2 separate regions of the Homo sapiens genome follow, and region 2 is linked to region 1. Evidence: promoter capture Hi-C in human tissues and cell types (Jung and others, 2019). All regions are on one chromosome and are shown on one strand. The core of a region is centred on a gene start or on the middle of the fragment in contact, and the rest is flanking DNA. Distances in the headings are between cores, read along the strand shown.

Region 1 (2,881 bases), core at 329-2,828:
CCCGAGGTCACGGCGGCGCTGCCCGGCTGCATGCCGCCGCCCCCGCCCCCTGCGCCGCCCCCGCCGCCGCCGCCGCCGCCACCCCCGCCGCCGCCAGCCCCTGCCGCGTCCGAGTGCACAATAGAGCCGGCCGCGAGCAGGCTGTTCCCCGGCAGGTAGGGGTTAGAAGCCGCCGTGGCCATGCCGCTCCGCTCCCGCCACCCCACCGCCGCCACCACCGCCGCCGCCGCCGCAGCAGCAGCCGCGGCCGCCGCCGCCGCCGCCGCCGCCGCGCCCCCCGCCTCCCGCCTCCTCCCCCCCTCCTTCCCCGCCCCCGCCCCGGGCCCCCGCCGGCCCCGCCGCCTTCGCCGCCTCCTCCTCCGCCGCCGCCTCCGCCCCCGCCGCCGCCGCCGCCGCCGCGGCCCCCGGCTGCAGCTGCAAGGCCGCTCGGCAGGGCGCGGGGGTCGCCGGCCGGCCTTGGTCACCAGCAGCAGCAGCAGCCGCAGGAGCAGCGCTCTGGGGAGGGGGGCTCGCTTCTCGGGGTGCGCTCCGTGGCCACCCCCTTCAGGGGGGGTCGTGGCCGCCCCCCAGCCCCGGCGCGCTGGGCTCGCTCCAGCGGGGCTCGCCGGGCGGGGCGGGGACCTGCACTCGGGGCGCTCTCCCGGGACGCGCGGGCTCCCGCTCCTCCTCCTGTCCTCGGGCGAGCCCGGACTCTGCCCGGTCGCGGGGCTCCGTCCACCTGCTAAGTGAAGGTTTCACGGGAGATAACAAAGAAAGAAGCTGCTCCTTTCTTCCTTAGCCAAATTACGGATGACCAGCAACCGGCCCGCTCCTTCTCTTGTCCGCTCTCTCCTCTCCTCTCCTCTCCTCCTCAGGAACACATTTCACTCGTTTTCCCTTAGAGTAGTAAAACTTTTTCGTCCTTGAAGGCGTGGTGCTGCTGGCTGCTCGCGAGTGCGGAGAGGGGAGGCTGGCTCCTGCTCTCCCCCTCTGGTCCTCTCGTTTCAAGTTTTGTTCTGTCCTAGGAAAACTTCTTGCGATGGTGCATTTCTCTGAAGTTGCTATTGCCGGAGCTCTTGGTTGCCTCTGAAACAAGAGTCCTTTTTCATTCTCCTCGCAACAGTCACAGTCTGATGCGACATCTTTCCTTTTGGGCAGAAATTAGGAAACAAATATAACAAGGAAAAAATTGAACAGGAAAAAAAATGATGTCGAATCGCTCTGTTACCTTGTTGCTGACGGTTGGGGTTGGTGTTTTATTTTTTTCCCAGCAGTTGTCTGGAGAAGGAGGAGGAAGAAGAGTGCATTGGTGGAGGTGGAGGTGTGTGTGTGCATATAGGGGATCGATCCTTGATACACAACAACTCCAGTGGGCACGCTGCACGGCTCGTAGAGTGCACCGACGGCGGGCGCTGGCGCTGGCCGTGCTGGAGCAGAGTTGCAGCAGGAGCTCGCTCTGCGCCCTCGTTCGCGCTCTCTTTCCCTCTCTCACTTTTCCTCTCCCTCCCTCTCTCTCTCTCCCTCTCTCGGGCGCCCGCTCTCGCTCCGATCTGACAGTTCGCTCTCTGTCCCTCCCTCTCAGAGCGGGGACTGTCGAATGTTTACCCTCCGCCGCGAGCGCGCACCCACCACCACACTTTCCCAAATACAAGGAAGTCGAGCACCAGGGCCCCCGCTGATTGGCTACCCGCTGGGTGATTGGCAGGCTCGGAATGACTGGCTCAGGACGCGAGGCCCCCCTTCCGGCCGTTCCGATTGGTTGCTTTTTAATTTAGGCAGAGCGTCGTAGAAGCTGGAAATCTGTCGTCCTCCAGCCTCCCTCCCCCTCACCACTTTCCCCTCCCCGCCCCTCCCCCGCCGCCCCCTCCGCCACATCTTAACTCTTAGTGTCCGGCCCAGACGTTGGCGTTCCCTCGGCGGCTCTGGGCGTTCGCAATAGGTCTGGGCGGGGGGAAGAAAGGGGAGATAAAAGGGAGGGAGGGACGAGAGGGGGGAAGAGAATCAGAAGGAAAACGAAGGGGGAAACATGAAAAATAGCAACCTGCCCACCCCACCTAGTACGCGTCGGGTTGCTCACCCCCTTACCCCCGCCCCGCCAGAGATTTGTAAAGCGCGCGGCACGGATGTACCATTCAAGCTAATACCTATAGACAGATGTGTCCCCAGTGGTTTCAAAGTTTCCTCTTCCCTTCACCAGCCGGCCCCCTTCTCTGATCGGCGGGGGTGGGAAGCGGGGGCTCGCATCGCCAAGAGCTCTGGTCGTGGCCACGCTCCTTGGAAATCCGCCACCGCAACTTTCCGCAGCCGTTGCGCGCCGGCGGCAGCCCCCTTTGTTTAAGTTCTCGGATGCCATCATCTGGGAAACCTGCAGCCCAGGACCAGCGCGGTGCCCGCGCGTGCGAGACGGACCGCTCGCTGCCGCCGCTCCCTGGCTCCTCCACCCCCTCTCTCCCTCCTTCGCTCTCCCTCCCTTCCTCCCTCCTCCCTCCTCTGGGATTCGTGCAAGTAGCGTGCGTGCCCTTGTGAGTTTGGAGGGTGCCGGTCAGCGGAGCCGTGCGATGTATTTGAAAAGCAATCAGTCCGACCTTCCCCCATAGATTCATCGTAAGTGTATTCGACCCCAATGGCTTTAGGAATTCCCTGTGGCAGCAGGAGCCGGGCGAAAGAACCGGGATCGGCTAGCCGCGCCCTTCTCTGCTCCACCGCTTCCTCGTGTGTGTGTGTGTGTGTGTGTGTGTGTGTGTGTGTGATTAGCGGTGGGGGGGTTTGCTCGCTCTCTATTCTTAGGCATGGTGGTGCTTTTTTTTCTTTCCTTTCTGTCTCAGATGGATTTGCGTGGTGGATGGGGCTGGCGGCGACAAATGCTTTCTCAGCTCTAACCCAGCTGAAAGAGTTAAGGGGG
Region 2 (3,336 bases), core at 75-2,574, 1.8 Mb after region 1:
GTCCACATGTCAAAACAAAACAAAACAAAATAAAATGAAATCGTTGATACCTAGAACAGTTTTGCTTTAATAAAACAAATCATATACATCCTGTGGATTACATAGATTCTGCGTTAAGTTTGCATTTTAGCTGCTATTTTGACATCCCTAAGCGGATGGATGAGAAGAAAGTATAGAGTGGTACCAAGCACCCACATGACAAAGGGAGACTGGAGAAAAACAAAACAAAACAAACATCCAAACCACAATAATAATTAAGAATGGATCTGCCAAATATCTTACTGCAGTATCTCACTTGGTCCTTTCAACTATTGTGTTAGGTATTATGATAGATCCCATTTTATTAAGGTTCATAAAGACAAAACAAATCAGTTGAGGGTCTAACAGGTAGTAAACAGTGGAACAGGGATTAAAATTCGGATCTATCACATCAAGGTTTCTGCCCCTAATCAGGATTGTGTCATGAAAGGGAAAGCAAGGTATTCATGGGCACACTTCGTGCCAGAGACTTTGCATACAATGTTCCATTTGATCTCCACAGCATTAATCTTTCTCAACACGGTTGGAAGTTGAAAAGTATATGTTGAAAGAATAAATGTAATAACAGAAAAGAGGGTGTTTTATGTCTGGGAAAAATAATGGCAGAAGAGAAGGAAATAGGAACAAAAGGCAGAAGGCAGAGATCAGACCAGAGGTAACTGCGCTAAATGTAACATCACCACCCTCAGTCCAAGAGGAATATTATTTCTACTATTTGTGGGATAAATATTCTAGAATTATTATTTAATGCTTAAGGGACAGGATTACCCCAGTAGTTATGAAGATTTGGGGGAATATCCAAACATCTGGGTTCAAAGAAAAAGACATCTAGGTGGCAAAAGTCTGGCACAAGTGGTTCTGTTCCTCAAAGGCATTTTAATCATTGTGTCATTGTGGTTCTGCTTTCTTTGACAAATAAAGCAATAAAGCATTTTCCCCTAATAAGTTAAATTGGAATTAACACAGGAGGTAGCAACTCAAATTTCAGAATGACACTTTTCCTTTTTTGAAAGGGTCTCACTCTGTCACCCAGGCTGGAACAGAGTGGCGCGATCATGGCTCACTGCAACCTTAAACTCCTGGGCTCAAGTAAATCTCTCTGCTCAGCCTCCTAAGTAGATAGGACTAGAGGCATGCACCGCCACACCCAGCTAATTTTCTTTTTAACTTTTTAGTAGAGAGAAGGCCTCACTATATTGCCCAGGCTGGTCTCAAACTCCTGGCTTTAAGTAATCTTCCCCCTTTGGCATCCCAAAGTGCTGGGATTACAAGCATGAGGAACTGTGTCCACCCAGAATGACACATTTTTTAGAATAGAAGAGAATATCTAGAAAAATATTATCCTTCAAAGCAGTCAATTTTTTAAAAACTACAGCAACATTGCAGGAGTTAATTGCAGATGCCATCTAGCTCCATTTCTGTATCGTATTATCTCCTACTGATTGTAGTAGTTAGGCTACATTGGGTGCAAGTAACAAGAAAAGAAGAGCAGGCTAAACAGCCAGGAGCTTAGTTCTCGCCTTGATGAGCCCAGTGGAATGTAGGTGCTGGCACAAGTTTGTCAGCCTCCTGATGCCACTGGGAGCCCACAGAACAGGGCAAGCTGCATGCCCAGCAGTGCATACATGCTCAACAACAAAAGAAGGAGACAGACAGGAAGACAAAGTGGTTTTGTGTGGAGACATTTTGTCTTTTTATCAGGAAGGGAACCTTCCTCCCACCTGTCTCCTGGCACACCACCATTTGTTCCTTCATGCTTCTAGTGGATCTCGTCTTGAGTTCAAATCATCCGCACTGTCCCATGCTCACTTGTTACCCAGTCACTGGCCACGGGGAAGGAAATTTGGGTAACAAAGTGATATCATCAGGAATCCTCCCAGACCTGGCTCATCTTGACTTCAAGGGATCTCAACCAGCTGCCTGACAAATCAAAGTTGCATTGACAAGGATACCTGCAGGTGGGATAGGATAGCTAGCTGCTGTGTAACCACTAAGCTGTCTGCATGTTGATGACAGAATTATTATTTCACAATGAGGAATTGTTTGGTTGAAATCAGTGTAAGCCTCTTTATCCAAAGATAACAGAACAAAAAAATTCATTTTAAAACATCCATATTTACCTTTACAAGTAAAACAAATAATGAGGCCACATTTATTGAAGGCAATTGGAATAAAAATGTAACTTAAAACTTGAGATTGTATTTCCTTTCAAATGACGATATGCGTATTTCAGACCACATTTTAATCTGCAGTTTTGAAATATGCAAAGTGCTTTTTATACTAAGAAAATAGAATGATTAATATAACTACTACATAAACTACATCCTTTTTCTAGTAAAACATCAGTTTTCTTCAATGTAGTCAGTATTGCACCATTATTGTAAAAGGCCATGGACAGTAACAATATGTTTTTGAAAACTAAATCCTAGATGGCAGTGACAATGTGTAAATGTACTCATTTATATATAATGAAATGTTAAATTCCTAAAAGGCAACTCTAATTAAATGGAAGAGGCAGAAACTCCACTGCTTGGTTGCATTCATTTGTCATACATCTCAATAAGACACAATTACTTATTTAATGTTTTAATAATTTGGTTAATGCTGTACCACCCTTACTACTATAAACAACGAACATGGTAACTTCAGAGGAAAATATTAAGAAAAGGGACAAATATTTCAAATTACGTGTATGTAAAACAATGCTATTTATAATTTAATCATCTCAATTCTGTGACATTAATAATTTATCAGAAGCTGCAGCCTGGGTAGCAGCCCAATATGTGTAATTCATTTCCTGGAGTCACTGCTGATGGTCAGTTAACCTAATAAGTTCAGAGTGATTCAGCTTCCTAAAAATTAATTTAGTAACTGTCCAGCAGTTGATTCCTTTAGAAATTTCATCATCTGCCATCCTCTGCGTAAAGTTCCAGTAGAATTGTGCTAGGAATGGTGGGGCTTGGATTAAATACTAAACTGCATTCAGGTAGTTCTTGCATAAATAGTCAGTGTCACTGTCAGATGTTTTCTGATAGCAGCATACCAAGAATTCACAATTACTGGACTCTGTTAGGGTAATATGGTTTTATTCTCAAACTACATGAAAACAGCTCCTTCTTTGAAGACCAGAACTGACTTGTTTTCTTAATCCCACAGCCCTCGGCTTCATAGAATTTCATGTGCTATTTGTTCTGGGCATCAATCATAAAATGTCTCTTGTGATTTAGGAAGTGTATGTATATCAGAGTCAGAATTTTCTTATAATATCAGAAGCGGGGAGGTGGATAGTGGTCTACA

What was found. The method cuts DNA at HindIII sites, captures the fragments that hold promoters and counts their contacts. A contact is called where the count stands out against the background at its distance.
Region 2: a contact is called between a fragment that was not itself captured here and the fragment with the promoter of POU3F3 in region 1, in 1 of the 25 tissues and cell types used here (IMR-90 fibroblasts).

Annotation. Positions count from the first base shown.
Region 1 is chr2:104,852,812-104,855,692 of GRCh38, reverse strand. It overlaps POU3F3 (POU class 3 homeobox 3), which reads right to left and starts at 1,578. Exons shown (of 1, transcript NM_006236.3): 1 at 1-1,578. The coding sequence starts at 182. It also overlaps a transcript of PANTR1 not described here. RefSeq lists an enhancer at 1,385-1,974. The HindIII fragment of the contact is 12,067 bases long and covers 1-2,881 here.
Region 2 is chr2:103,012,323-103,015,658 of GRCh38, reverse strand. LOC124907862 (a long non-coding RNA gene) reads right to left here and starts at 2,083. Exons shown (of 2, transcript XR_007087164.1): 1 at 1,761-2,083. The HindIII fragment of the contact is 5,284 bases long and covers 1-3,336 here.